4 separate regions of the Homo sapiens genome follow, and all the other regions are linked to region 4. Evidence: promoter capture Hi-C in human tissues and cell types (Jung and others, 2019). All regions are on one chromosome and are shown on one strand. The core of a region is centred on a gene start or on the middle of the fragment in contact, and the rest is flanking DNA. Distances in the headings are between cores, read along the strand shown. Region 1 overlaps LOC105370569 (a long non-coding RNA gene). Region 2 overlaps PROX2 (prospero homeobox 2). Region 3 overlaps LIN52 (lin-52 DREAM MuvB core complex component). Region 4 holds the start of NPC2 (NPC intracellular cholesterol transporter 2).

Region 1 (3,725 bases), core at 542-3,041, 350 kb after region 4:
TATCTGAGCTTCAGTTTCCTGCCTATAAAATGAAAATAACAAAACACACCTATTAAACATTGAGATAATGCATGTAAGCTACTTGGCACAGTACTGAGCACATAGTAAAAGCTCAAAAATCAGTAGTCACCATCATCGTTACTTTTTGACTTGTTCTCATGTGTTCTTTTTGAAATTCAAAATATCCAGCTGGCTTGAAGATAGTTGTCACGTTTTATAGTCAGCTATCATAGACTGAGCTATGTCATATGTAATAGTACAGTGTGTTGAAAGAGTAATTATTCAGAAGCATTTTCAGGTAACCAGTGACATTGATTTTCAGAACTAGTACGGAGGCTTGAGAGGCTCAGGTGTAAAAGGTAATTTAGTACTTAGAGGGGGTTGAGTAGTAACAGAAAGTAGTTGTCAGACCACAGGTATAAACATAGGTGAGGGCACAGAATCATTGATTTGCCTTGATTTTCACATATTCAAGAAGAAAGTAACTTTGTGAATAAATAATGCGTTCATAAAGGTATAAAACTCAGGAGGTTCAAGTGTCCCATCCATCTTAACCCTCAGCCTCCCACGACTCCATCTGTAGAGGCAACCAGTGTTGAGAAAAATTGTGTGGATAAGCATTAAGTATTAATGTTTTTACCTGGTTTTTGTACACACACTACCTTATTTTTCCTTTACCAGTATGTTTTAGAGGTCATTCAGATCATATATAAAATATTCACATTTTCTCTCCCCCCCACCTCCTTCTTTGGTTTTCCAAAGGTACCTTCATAATATAAAGAGGTTTACTGAAAAATTTCAGAAATTGTTTCAGCTGCATCTCTGTTCTTTTCGTGGCATGGAATACATGGTATGGGTATATTTGTATACAATTCTTTCATATATGTAGGTTGGTGTAACCACCCTCCACCTTTCTCCTAGTCCCCCAACCCCACCATCTCTAACCCTTGGCAGCCACTAATCTGGTCTCCATTTTTATAATCTTGTCATTTAAAGAATGTTATAAATATGAAGTCATACAGTATGTAACCTTTTGGGATTGGCATTTTGGCTTTTTTCACTCAGCGTAATTTTCTTGAGATTCATTTAAGTTGTTATGTGTGTCAATAGCTTATTCCTTTTTATTGCTGAGTAGCTTTCCAACTCATTCTCTTTTGCAGCTGCAGAATGTTTTATGTCTTTACTATCATTTTAACTTACAGAGTCTCTATTAATGGGTATTCATGCTCTCGTTTACTGTTATAAATTATGAATTTCACATATACTCAGTCATTCTGCAGCTTCCTGTACTTGCCTGATTTCTAGCAATGAAGGAAAATACCGATGGCACCATTTCATAGACATACTCAAAGGATGACAAGCACTTAAGGACCAGCACAGCACAGCGGTGAACTCTCAAGACAGTATGACAGTAATGAGATGACGAAGGCACATCTTGTTTCCTGGAAAATTCTGCATGATAGGAGACTGACAAAGCAAAGAACCATGATGTGTCTTAGAGAACCAGAATGGTCAGAGACTCTGATGATCCCCTGGTCCACACGTGACTGAGAGTTAATACCTTAGGTCACTGTTCTCAGAACCTGGATATTTATATGCACGTGCACCTCAGTGACTGATCCATTCTCAGTTTTCAGGTCCATTGCTTTCACATTTGAAATAGTCAAGGAGCATCTTTATGACTGGGGCTGAGCTTCTGCATTCATGTACAGCCCTCTGCCTGCCAGCAGTGCCTTGCATTTGTGATCCTACAAAGAGCCTGTGGACTTAATGGTTTACTGTATAGGGAAAGGCTTGACTTTGTGTCTTCTACTTAAGAAGCTTGAACTTTTTACCAAATATTCGTACTCCTTTTCCTGAAAATACTGATCTAGGCTACAGATCCATCTCTTAACCATATTTGAAAAATTGAAATAATATCTTCTGCCATAACTTGAAATTCCACTCTCAGATCTGTTATTTCTGACAGTGAGTTTGTATTTCTCAAGTAGATATGTCTGATGCTTATTTCTTTTACAGCATCTGGCTCAGTGCATGGCTCATATATCTGTAGAGTGAGTAAATACAGGGAATGTTTCCTATGTGTATGGCAAGGGTCACAGACTCAGGCAGGTAACAGATGAGCAAGGCAGAGGGTGGAGACTGGTAAACTAGACAACTAGATAGGTCAGGTCAATCGGGGGCAGCACCTGCTCAGCCATAGCAGATTGTGGCCATGTGGGGATATAGGTCTCATATTGCCAGATTTCCTGGGTTTTCAAGAAAAAGTGAAAAATCTGGATTTTTATGTGAGATCTTCCAGTATTTCAGCATCAGGTTCTTTTTGTTTGTGAGTGCTTTGGCCCTCACAGCCTGCCTGCCACATCTGACTTGTGGACTGCCGGCTTGAAACCTTTGATATTTAGAGAAGTGGTTAGACCTTAGAGTTGGTTCTGGTGAGATCCTTCTTGTTTTACAGATGAGGTTTCTGAGACCGAAAGAAGGGAAGTGACTTGCTCAAAGTCTCACTGTTACTCAGTGGCAAAACAAGACTAGAATTTGGGTTTCCTGGTCCATAACCTGTCACTTTCTTTTTTCTTAACTACAATACCTCCTTTATGAAGACCTTCATAAATTCTAGGATGGTGAATTCTCCTTTATTTTGTGTGTCGTGTGCAAGTGGACATGTGTGTATTTACTAAACTCTGTGGACCTGGAAATACATTCTGATATGACTATCAGGAACAATGTGATTACTTCTGAAACCAACTTCCTTAAACTCTCATGTATAAGGTAGCTATACACCTAGGATCCCTCTTAAACACTTACTACTTGGTTGGGTAATTCTCATGAATAACAGAAGCTTGAAAATTAACAGAGTATTGGATTCAGTGATTGTACAAGAGCAGTGGAGTTTTCTCCACAAAGTAGAGAAAATCATTTGTGTATTGTTATGCAAATAGCTTACAGAACTATTAATAATTTTGTTTTCTTTAATTTGTAATTTCTTATGTAACTAGTCCATTTGCTTTCACCCAGTGATGAGCATCTTACCTGCTTCACTCGGTAGCGCTCCATTCCTAATCTTTTTAAGGACAAATTCATCAACTTGGCGTTAAAGTCTATCAGTAACATGATCCCAGCTACTTCTCCAGATTCCTCTTGAGCTGTCCTTACTACATGTGCACTACACTGCAGCCACACTGTGTGACTTATTCCCTGGGGTTTCTATTGTTTCTGCCTTGCTTTTCTCATCCTTTAGATATTAGCATTATTGGCTGGGCACAGTGGTTCACACTTGTAATCCTAGCACTTTGGGAAGCTGAGGCAGGCAGATCACTTGAGCCCAGGAATTAGAGACCAGCCTGGGCAACAAAAATGTCGGCTGCAGTGAGCTGATACTGCTGTCCACCCTGGGCAACAGGGTGTGAGACCTCATCTCAAAAAAAAAAAAAAAAAAAAAAAGCCAGGCACGGTGGCTCATGCCTGTAATCCCAGCATTTTGAGAGGCCGAGGCAGGTGGATCATGCAAGGTCAGGAGTTTGAGACCAGCCTGGACAACATGGTGAAACCCCATCTCTACTAAAAATATAAAAATTTTCAGCTACTCGGGAGGCTGAGCCAGGAGAATCACTTGAACCCAGGAGGCAGTGACCCAAGATTACACCACTGCACTCCAACCTGGGTGACAGAGCAAGACTCCATCTCAAAAAAAAGATCGGTGGTGGGAGAAACTGTCCAAAGGC
Region 2 (3,750 bases), core at 466-2,965, 370 kb after region 4:
GGCCCAGGCACCTAGTTGCTGCACAGGAGATCCCTCCCTGCTGCCCCATCAGCCCCTACTTACCCTTCCTACAGATCCACAAATGCTGTGGAGAGAATCCTGGATTGGGATTCCAAAGACCCAGTTTCAGACACTGATTTTGCCATCTATTAGCTGTGTGACCTTGGGCAAGCCACTTAACTGCTCTGAGCCTCATTGCTAAGATGTGGAGTATAGTGGTTAAAGCTTGTACTTGGCCATCAGATCCCGGGTTTAAATCCTGGTTGCTCATTAGTGTGTCTTGGGACTTTGGACGAGTTAGCTCCCTTCTCTGTCTCTGCTTCTCGGATACCCGATCTTAGAGTGGATGCTTGAGAACGGTGAGATAATACAGGTCTAAACCCGTTATCTGAAATGCTGAGCCAAATGGAGTTTGGATTTCAGAATTTGTTAGCTTATAAAGATAATACGATGTGTGTACCACACATTAATTAACATCCACAGCTGAGACAGTGTATAATCCAATACATTAACATTTCTGCAGCAGAACGTATGACTATACTAAGTGGGATAAAATCTATTAATAGCCTCCAATCAGTGCAAGCCAGGTTTTGCTACCAAAAAAAAAAGATTGCATCATTCTTAGGGGGGGAAAATCATAGGGCCTGTCAAAGCTTTATGGGTTTCAGAATTGTAGCTAAGTGGTGGTGGGCACATATGTGTGAAGTGCTGGTAGCAATGCCTGCCACCGAGAAGGTGTTCTGTCAATGCTCCCCTCGTGATCTTCACATCTGCCCTACCTATGTCACAGGATGTCATGTGAATGTGAACGTTCTTTTTATGCTGTAAAGCAGCTTGCTCTCAGGTGGCTTTCATGGCCCACAGGAATAAATCTCTTGGAATATAGGCAGCAGGAATGAGGGAAGAGTTGAGGGGCCAGGGTGCTGCTAGGGGGTCCCAAGTCATTCCAAAGATAGTCAAGTACTTCACCCATGCAGCCAGTCCTGGCTTAGGTATTTCTTAGGATAGGCCCCAAACCTCCAGAAGCTCTCTGAGCCCAATCCCCAATTTAGGGGGCAGGAACAGGCACATGTAGGTGCTCAACAAATAGCAAATTCTGGGAGACTGAGGTGTTTTTGCAGCTGTCTGAATTTAATGGAGAGTCAACTAGTGGTTATCAAAGGCCCAGACAGGTAGCCTTTCTTATAAAGAAAATCTGTCTATGGTGGAATCTCTGCCTCCAAGAGTGGTGGCAAGTGAAGTGTTCTCAGCATTGGTTTTACAGTTGCTCGCTAACTTCCAGGAAAGCTTTGGGGTGTTTCCAACACTTTTGACCGGCAGGGGGCGCTCATGGCATTTAGGACACAAAGGCAGGTTCTGGCATGGTAATGAGCTGGTCCCACCCCATCCTGCTGCCCTCACAGTAGTTGCCAGGCAAAGGACACGACTGTTCCCACCTGGATATGCAACTCCATAGACTCATCAGCTTCTGGAGATTCCCCTCAAAGCTGCACACAAGAAGCAGCAGCGTGAGCACAGCTAGCTTAAAAAGCAACATCCAAAATATATTCTCAAGAACTTAAGTTCTGCAAGATGCTTGTTAGAAGTGGTCATATGGGTTTGGGGCTGTGTACATTCTCCTCTTAGAGCTTCCATTTACTCATGTTAAAGGCTCTGAGAATTCCTGCAGAAAAGAAACTATCTCAGTATTTCCCCAAGGTACTTTTTCTTCTAACTCAACAATTATTAATATCCCGAGGGTTACTCTGGGAAATACATTAAGAGAGTAGTGTCTACTTAAGGGTTGCAAAGATGATGCAATAAGATCCAGAGCCCTGCAGATCAGCCTGGGCCACTCAGGCCTCCTCATGGGGAGCCTCCTCTCCCTTCATATGCCCAGCCCCTAGTCTCCAGGCACTCCATTGCACCTTGGAAGTTGTTCCTTAAACTGGAGACCTCTGGCCGTTTCCAGCCACCTCTCTGGGTTTAATCCCCGAGGAAAACTCCTTTTCCATTTGGCCCAGAAGTTTCTTGTTCCTCATCTGCTCCCCAGGAATTATCTACACAATATAGGATTTTTGCTTGTAGAGCTATGGGGTTGGGGAGGCCATACCTTAGATGACGTCATTCCTTTGACCCTCTCCTCCTAAGTTTATGGGTGGCTGACAACCAAATTATGGATTCTTTCTTCCTTAGGGTATTCATTGTATTTCAGAAGCCTATTTGAGTCTCAAAACAAAACCCTTTTAGACCCAAAGGAATAAGTCAAGTGGCAGAACCCGATGGGTCATAGAAGAAGCTAAGTGAACCTTCCCAGGTCCTTAAATTCCAGAATGTGGTCACCACTATAAGCTGAAGGCCCAGAGCAACATTAAGAAGACCCTGAGTGATCTGTCCCCAGCTCCTCTTCAACTTTTAGTTTTCTTGTTTCTCTGCACAGTGTCAATGGTATTTTAAATTATTTATTGAAACATTGTCTCTCTCTGTTGCCCAGCTGGAGTGCAGTGGTGCAATCATAGCTCACTGTAACCTCGAACTCCCGGGCTCAAGCAATCCTCCTGCCTCAGCCTCCTGAGTAGGACTACAGGCATGGGCCATCATGTGCAGATAATTTTTTATTTTTAGAGATGGGGTCTAGCTATGTTGTGCAGGCTAGTCTTGAACACCTGTCCTCAAGTAATCCTCCCACCTTGGCCTCCCAAAGCACTGGGATTACAAGCATGAGCCACACTGCACCTGGCCAACAATGAGAACTTCAATTGCTATTAAAGGATATGTGGACCAAAGAGAAAGGCAGTGCCTCCATGACAGCATGCAGGCCTCTCTGTTCCATCTTCACCGAGGGAAGAAGGGGTAGACTTTCCAGATGGGCAGAGGTGAAAGGCAAGGGACACTGCTGCTGGCTCAGGACCAATGGTTGCGGCTTAGTAGTTCTCCAAGGTCGTAGGGCAGGCTCTGAGGAGGGGTGCCTCTGGGAAGATGAGTCCTGGGGAGGACTGCTACTCCAATGGCCATTGTTGTATCTATGACCCAGTAGCTGGCTAAGAATCTGATTTTCCTGGATGTGGGAAGGTGCAGTCAAGGGAAAGTTTGCTGGGGGATCCTGACAGGGTTTGGGGGTCATTCTTGGAGGGATAGGGTACCTAGGAGAATCTAGACGCTTGGCCAGTGATAAATTTCCTACTGGGACCCCAGCTTGTAGCTGGACCCTCCTGGGCAAGGCAGCCAAAGCAAGTGGATCTTTACAGGCCCCTCCCACAGGAGGTGAGGGCTCGCTTCTACCCTCTGCCACCTGCCCCTGGAAGCTTCTGCCCAGCTGAGTCAGGTGGCCTGGTGGATCCAATAGTACCTTTTGTAATACCGAGTCCACAGCCTGGGACACTGCCCTGGTCAGCTCTTTCCTCAGAATCTCTAGTGAAGCTGGTGCTCCAGAAGGAAGGAAACTGGGCTTCTCAGACTCTTGGTGTTTTTCTGCCCCAGAGAGGTCCTTGCTGGTACCTTGCTGGTGGTCACCGTCCACAACCCAGGGGCGAGGCCCACAGCCATTCCCCTGCTTTGCACTCAGAGGGCCTTTCCCCGTGCCACAGCCTCCTGGCCCCTGAGCTGTGTCCCTGGGCTTGGCAGCCTGTAGGATGTGCTCTTGCAGATGTCTTAGCTGTTGCTTCAGCAGATGAAGTTGTTCTCTCACACGAGGGCCCCCCTTCCTGTTGCCCTGGTCCCAGGCAGGGGCTGGCATCAGGAGGCCTTGCGGTGTGGGAAGGTTCTGCTTCC
Region 3 (3,593 bases), core at 974-3,473, 390 kb before region 4:
TCGTGAATTTAGCTGACATGAAATAGCTTTAAAATTTAGAATGAGAAACAATTACATTGATGTGTATTGAACTTCTTACATACAGTCTCTCTTTGTTTTATTGTGTGTAGTGTATTTGCATTAAAAACAAGATTTTTTTTTTTTTGTCCTTACAGATTATTCATCTACTCTAGGGGTTGGCTTTTACTTGACACCCTAATCTGGTGTTTCAATGTCTAAATCCTCTTTCCTGCATTAATTGAGAGGATGACATGGGTGAAAAATAAGCAGTAGGAACTGATGAATCCCCAAGGACCAGTGATCCTGTTTTTATGCAAATATCTGCACTGATAAAGATGATGGAAAGAAAAAAAATGCAAAAAATATTTGTCCTCAAAACATGATTGTTTGTCACTTCCCAAGAGCATTGTTAAATGTTAGTATAAAAATTATATGAACCTTCTAGGGCTGATAGTAACTAGGTTGTGTCTTTTGGAAGATGAGTGCTACCCTTTGAATTGGTACATGATTATGCCTCAGATAACCCTTTTGGTGTGCAAATTTTGGAATGCAGTAACTTTTCTTATAGGGATTTATAGTCTCTCAGATGATTGAGGCCTCTTGGCTTGATTTGGGCAGTTAATTTATATGAAATTCCCTTGAAATATATAGAAATATTTAAAAAAGTAAAACTCTGCCTTAGCATATGAAGAATTCCATTTCTATTATTTCCATCTGAGCTCAGAGTCCTCCCTCTTTTACTGGAACTATGTTACAGTCACCTTCTAGCTGGTCCCTCTGCCTCTCAACTAGCCCATTCCAATCTATCTTGTTACTGCTGCCGCATTGTTTTTGTGTTTGTTTTTTTGAGACAAGGTCTCTCATCCAGGCTGGAGTGCCATGGCCTTATCATGGCTCACTGCAGCCTCGAACTCCTGGGCTCAAGAGATCCTCCCACCTCAGCCTCCCAAGTAGCTGGGACTACAGGTGCAGTGCCACCATATCTGGCTAATTTTTTTGATATTTTGTAGAGACGAGGTCTCACTATGTTGCCCAGACTGGTCTTGAACTCCTGGGCTCAACCAGTCCTCCCTCCTTGGCCTCCCAAAGTGCTGAAATTACAGACATGAACCACCATGCCTACCCCAGCCTGATTTATTATTTATTTATTTGTTTATTTTTTGAGGCAGTGCCTTGCTTTGTCTCCCAGGCTGGAATGCAGTGGTGCAGTCTTGGCTCACTGCAACCTCCACCTCCCAGGCTCAAGTGATTCTTATGCTTCAGCCGTCCAAGTAGCTGAGATTACAGGTGTGCACCACCATGCCCAGCGTTTTAAAAATATTTTTAGCAGAGATGGGGTTTCACTATGTTGGCCAGGCTGGTCTCGAACTTCTGTCCTCAAGTGATTTGCCCGCCTGGCCTCCCAAAGTGCTGGGATTACAGGTGTGAGCCACCACGCCCGGCCCCGGCCTGATTTTTTGAAGTACATTTTCTTCTCTTTGTCTTTTGCTCATAAATCATTGGTACTACTTCATTACCCATAGGATAAAATTTAGGCCCCTTAGTGTGGCATTCAAAATCCTTTGCATTCTGACCCTCGCCGGATTACTCTAGCCTTCTTACATCTCCTCTACCAAAACACATGCACTGTCTCTGTCTGAAGCTTCGGGAAATTGTTCTTTTTCTGGGTAGTTGGTGTTTTAGTGATGAGACGTAATATTTGAAGGTCTTATTTCTGGAATGTCTTCTCTTATGACAGTGGATGGTCAACAGCACAGAATAAATACAGTGTGAAACTTGTTGATGATCGCTTGGTTTATCTTCTACTTGAACCCTACTCCATCACTATTATTACATGCTTATGATCCTGATTTAGACCTGTAAGTTTCAATACTACATTGCTTCCTTTATTCCTAAGGTTCATTATCATGAATCCTATTGAATACTAGTTCTCAGCAGTTTTTACCCTCTCTTTCTGGAATACTTCCCCATCTTCTTAGTTCTACTCATGCTATTCCTTTTTCTCGGTAAGCTGTCCTTCTATCAGCTTTCCCTTTTCATCCTTGATTTAGAAAGTGAGTGCTCTCTCTGGCCTCTCAAATTGCCCCTAGAGCAGTTTGTTTGTTTGATTTGTAAGGTGCTTTTACCATTCTTCTTGGAGATTTTTGGTACATGTCTCAGTCCTTGGACTGATTGTAACTTTTTAAGATAAGAATCATATTTTTACTTTTTCAGCCCATAGCCCATAGATTTTTTTCCCCATCTCTGAAGACCACAGACCAGTTAGTAGTCATGCAAATGACCTACTTACTAGCTATCTTTGAAATATTTTTAAATAAAATGTGAAAACTGGGAAAGCAGAGGATTGTATCATTTGAAACTACGGCTAAACCTTGGGACCCTGATACATTTGGTTTTTTTCTCTTTTTTTTGGGTAACAGCTTTATTGAGATGTAATTCACATAGTCTATAATTCCCCATTTATAGTGTGCAATTCAGTGATTTTTGTATATTCAGAATTTTGCAGTCACCACCACAACCAATTTTACAACATTTTCATCACCTGAAAAACCTTGCACCCATTAGCAGTCACTCCCCATTACTTCCCAAACTCCCCAGACCTAGGCTGTTACTTACTGGCTTCATGTCTCTATGGATTTGCCTCGTCTGGACATTGCTTGTAAATGAAATCATATAATATGTGGTTTCTTGTGACTGGATTCTTTCTGTTAAGATAATGTTTTCAGTGTTCAATTATGCTATAGCATGTATCAGTGCTTTCTTTCTTTTTATGGCTGAATAATATTCCATTGTATAGATACGCCACATTGTATTTATCTACCTGGTGATGGGCGTTTGAGTTGTTTTCACTACTTGGCTACTTCAAATAATGCTGCTGTGAACATTCAGGTTCAACCAAAACACACAACTTTTTGGGTAAACATGTTTTCATTTTCTTAGGTTTATAGCTAGAGGTGGAATTCCTGGGTCATGTGGTAACTCTATATCTGATCTATTGAGGAACTGTCAGACTGTTTTCCAAACTAGCTGAACCATTTTGCATTCCCACAAGCAGTGTATAAGGGTTCCAGTTTTCTCACACCCTTGCCAATACTTGTTATTTGTATTTTTTGTTTTTTTAATTATTATCATGTCCATCATAGAGGGTATGAAGTAGTGTCTCATTGTGGTTTGGATTTGCATTTGTCTAGTAATAATGGTGTTTAGCATGTTTTCATGTGCTTATTATATATCTTCTTTGGAGAACTATCAATTCAGATCCTTTGCTTATTTGTAAATTGTATTGTTTGTGTTTTTATTATTGAATTGTAAGACTTCATTATATATTCTAGAAACATATATATGTTATTATCACATATATGACATTATCAGATATATGACTTGCAAAAGTTTTCTCTCATTCTATGGGTTGTCTTTTTACTTTCTTAATGGTGTCCTTTGAATCACAAAGCTTTAAATTTTGATGAAATCCAATTTATCTATTTTGTTGTTGCTTGTGTTTTAGTGTCCTACCTGATAAACCATTGCCTAATCCAGGTTCTCAAAAACTTATGCCTGTGTTTTCTTTTAAGAGTTTTATAATTTTAGATTTA
Region 4 (3,520 bases), core at 869-3,368:
CTCAGCCTCCCGAGTAGCTGGGACTACAGGTGCACACTACCATGCCCAGCTAATTTTTGTATTTTTAGTAGAGATGGGGTTTCACCATGTTGGCCAGGATGGTCTCAATCTCTTGACCTCGTGATCTGCCCGTCTTGGCCTCCCAAAGTGCTGGGATTACAGGTGTGAGCCACTGTGCCTGGCCGGAATGAGTTATTAAAATTAATAGTGTCTTCATCCAAACGCTGGCTACTAAGTTTAATGGAGGGAAAGGCAGTAATTTGAAGCGATAATAGCTTTCAAGTGCCAGTCTCCTAAATCAATGGAATAGCATTTAAGTGTTAATCGGCCAGCACTCCATTCCTTAATCAATCCTGTCCCCTAATCCCCAACTTTGCTTTTGTCTCAACATGAATTTTTATGACATAGGGGAAAAAGATTTCCATCTATGTTTTCAACACATTTCATTGAGCAGTTACTATTACCTGGGCACTGGATATAAAGCAGCAAACTTATGAAACCGCCTTTGCAAAAATCCTGAGGAAATTAAGACAGTGAAAGAGATCAGGACTCACCTACCCATCTTCCTTCTAACCTCTAAACTGTCTTTGTTCATTCCTGGGTGTAGGCTGAACTAGTCTTGGAGAGGAATTTATAGTTTAAACTCTGAAACGAAATGGATAATAGCCCTTTCCTGAAAAACCCCTTCTTGCCTGGGGACCGGTCTGCCTTTGTAGGACTAACAAATTAGCTACGAGTTTAGGGGCCACGCCGCCTCTGGCTGTAAGAGTCTGAACCTCCCCAAATTGCTCCTGGTAATGATATCACTATTGTAAAACCTAAGGTCAGTGCTTGAGATATTTTGCAGATCCTGCATTCCGATGCAGCAAATGACACCACCCAGAGGTCAGCAAGAAGAACTCACTTCGACTCTCCTATGATTTTATCTTCAACCTGACCAATCAGCACTCCCCACTTTCCAAGCCCATACCCGCCAAATTATCCTTAAAAACTCTGATCCCCGAATGCTCGGGGAGACTGATCTGAGTAACAATAAAACTCCGGCCTCCCCCACAGCCGGCTCTGCGTGAATTACTCTTTTCGCCACTGCAAATCCCATCTTGATAAATCCGCTCTGTCTAGGCAATGCGCAAGGTGAACCCCTTGGGCGGTTACACTTACTCTGGCTCCCCATTCTGCTGCGTGACTTTAGGTAGGCTACCCAACATCCCTGGAATTCAATGATTGATTATACGATCTCCGTGCTTCCTTTCCACTCATAGATCTTACAAAGTCAGTTTCATGCCTCTTTCATTGACAGTTCTATCTCTCTATCTCCACCTCTGAACAACATTGCTCGAGTTTCTGTTCCGACAATTCTATAGACTCGACTCAATGAAGGCACTCAGAATTTCTACCACCTGTTGTATTTTCCAACAAAGATTCCAACCACAGCGGCGAGAGGGAGTTATGTATCACAAGCTGTGATTAGAGACACAATGAGATTTATACAAGGAAAAACTGATTAAGAATCACAAGATTCCAAAGCCCAAAGGAAGTCCTATTTGTAACAATAAATGATGAAAAAGGGGAATTGACTTTTGACTTGTCAGCAAAAACGAAATTAAAAGAAAAGCAAAAGGAGTTGGAAGGGGGAGGCGGGATTCCAAGATACAAAGCATAAATAAAAAGAAGTTCTGTGCTCCACCCCTCCACCAGAGCTGGATACAGCCCTTCTGTTGTCCGCCCTACAAACTTTAGGAAACTTCAGCAAAAGGCCCACCTCCTGGAGTTCCCAGGAACCCCAAAACACGCGTTCTAAGGAAAGAAACAAAGTTGTGCGCGGTCGGGTTTCATGGAGGCCGGCGCCTTCTCCCCCGACCCAGCCCATTCCAGTTAGGTAGGGTCCAAGGCTCAGCCTGGCCGCCCGAGGGATCCGCCCAGCCCAGCCCCAGGGGTCTCAGCGCGGGGGTCCGGCGGGGCCTTCCACAGAGGGCGCGGGAACCTTGGGCGGGCCTGGGGCTCACCGCAGTCCTTGAACTGCACCGGTTCGGCCTGGGCAGCGGTGCTGAGCGCCAGGAGCAGGAATGTAGCTGCCAGGAAACGCATCGCGGATAACGAAGTTCCAAGCTCGGGAAAGAAGCAGCGGCCGCCCGCGGTCACAAGACAAACCTGTCGGGGCGGGCCCGGGGAGGAGCCCAGTCAGGCGACCTGTCACCAGTAACCACAGCTGAGGCCCGCCCGCGCCCCGCCCCCGGCTCCGGAAAGCCAGCTCCAGCCCTCTCAGGCCCAGAAGCCTGCAGTCTCCGCCCATGCCATCCCCTCAGAGGCCTGACCCGCCCGGACCCACCTCCGCCCCGCCCCGCCTCACTCCTCCCCGCCCCGTTCCTTCCCTTTAGAGCACCTCTCCGGCTTCCTGGGTGCGTCCCCGCCGCTGCCGTCTGGAGCATTCCTAGCCAATCAGACACCTTCTCCTCCCGCACTACCCAATAGGCATGTTGGGGGGGCGGGGCCTCCGTGAAGTCCCGGCCTCCTGTTCGTTCTCTCCGCCTCCCGAGGCCCCGGGTGAGAAACGGGGGAGACGCGAGGGGCGGAGCTTGTGGAGGAAGATGGCTGCCGCCTGGGGGTCGTCCCTAACGGCCGCGACGCAGAGAGCGGTCACTCCCTGGCCGAGGGGCAGGTACCAAGACTAGAAAGGCACCTGGAAAGGGTGTTTGGTTCTGCGCCTCTAGGACAAATGGGAAACTAAGGCCTGTGGGGGATGCGAGGGTTTGGTGGGAGGCCGTCCAGGTGGGGGTCGCCAGGTTTAGCGTGAGGCGCTCCAGGTCGAGGGTTGCAAGGTGCCCCTTCTGCTCCCGGGCTCACCCTCCTCCCTTGCGCGCAGGCTCCTCACGGCCTCCCTGGGACCCCAGGCGCGTCGGGAGGCGTCGTCCTCCAGCCCCGAGGCCGGCGAAGGGCAGATCCGCCTCACAGACAGTTGCGTCCAGGTAGGAGGCCGGACGCGGAGCGGCGGTACCCAGGCGATTGGCGGGAGCAGCGGGAACTGCTCTTCACTCAGCCCTTTAACTCCCGTTTCCCGCTATTCTTGATCCCCCTTCCTGCATTTCAGAGGCTTTTGGAAATCACCGAAGGGTCAGAATTCCTCAGGCTGCAAGTGGAGGGAGGTGGATGCTCCGGATTCCAATACAAATTTTCACTGGATACAGTTATCAACCCCGACGACAGGCAAGGAGGAAGGGGTGGGCCCCCAAAGGAGGTACAGGAGGGACAAAAGTGTCTCCAGTTTAAGGTGCACTTTTATTCCAAATTTAAAGGGTTTACCTGGGATGGTTAACACCGCCCGTCTCACAGTGAGGATGCAGTAAAGGTTTGTTGTTCTGAATCAAAGTAACTAAGTTATAGGAGCAAAATTGATCTGCCCAGGTCCATTGGGTAGTCGGTAGAAAGTCAGGCCGGACTAGATTCCAGGCTTAAGTCCCTACACGTTTCCCAGTATTTATTCCATTGAATCATTTTGCCTCAAAGAAAATCAGCACCTGTT

What was found. The method cuts DNA at HindIII sites, captures the fragments that hold promoters and counts their contacts. A contact is called where the count stands out against the background at its distance.
Region 1: a fragment that was not itself captured here is called in contact with the fragment with the promoter of NPC2 in region 4 in 1 of the 25 tissues and cell types used here (IMR-90 fibroblasts).
Region 2: a contact is called between a fragment that was not itself captured here and the fragment with the promoter of NPC2 in region 4, in 2 of the 25 tissues and cell types used here (bladder and hippocampus).
Region 3: a fragment that was not itself captured here is called in contact with the fragment with the promoter of NPC2 in region 4 in 1 of the 25 tissues and cell types used here (aorta).

What each region holds. Positions count from the first base shown.
Region 1 is chr14:74,839,296-74,843,020 of GRCh38, forward strand. LOC105370569 (a long non-coding RNA gene) reads left to right here. Exons shown (of 2, transcript XR_944033.3): 1 at 1-850; 2 at 1,306-2,724. Among named protein-coding and RNA genes, the nearest start is that of PROX2, 35 kb to the right of the region's middle. RefSeq lists an enhancer at 2,607-2,766. The HindIII fragment of the contact is 4,426 bases long and covers 1-3,725 here.
Region 2 is chr14:74,859,775-74,863,524 of GRCh38, forward strand. It overlaps PROX2 (prospero homeobox 2), which reads right to left. Exons shown (of 6, transcript NM_001243007.2): 3 at 2,756-3,750. Among named protein-coding and RNA genes, the nearest start is that of PROX2, 14 kb to the right of the region's middle. The HindIII fragment of the contact is 3,852 bases long and covers 1-3,641 here.
Region 3 is chr14:74,105,447-74,109,039 of GRCh38, forward strand. All of the region lies in intron 5 of LIN52 (lin-52 DREAM MuvB core complex component), which reads left to right. The region is part of intron 1 of LOC105370563 (a long non-coding RNA gene); the gene reads right to left. Among named protein-coding and RNA genes, the nearest start is that of LIN52, 22 kb to the left of the region's middle. The HindIII fragment of the contact is 3,681 bases long and covers 384-3,593 here.
Region 4 is chr14:74,491,187-74,494,706 of GRCh38, forward strand. NPC2 (NPC intracellular cholesterol transporter 2) reads right to left here and starts at 2,119. Exons shown (of 5, transcript NM_006432.5): 1 at 2,007-2,119. The coding sequence starts at 2,088. ISCA2 (iron-sulfur cluster assembly 2) reads left to right here and starts at 2,579. Exons shown (of 4, transcript NM_194279.4): 1 at 2,579-2,659; 2 at 2,864-2,966; 3 at 3,089-3,204. The coding sequence starts at 2,589. RefSeq lists silencers at 1,872-1,931, 2,102-2,381 and an enhancer at 2,582-2,661. The HindIII fragment of the contact is 6,262 bases long and covers 1-3,520 here.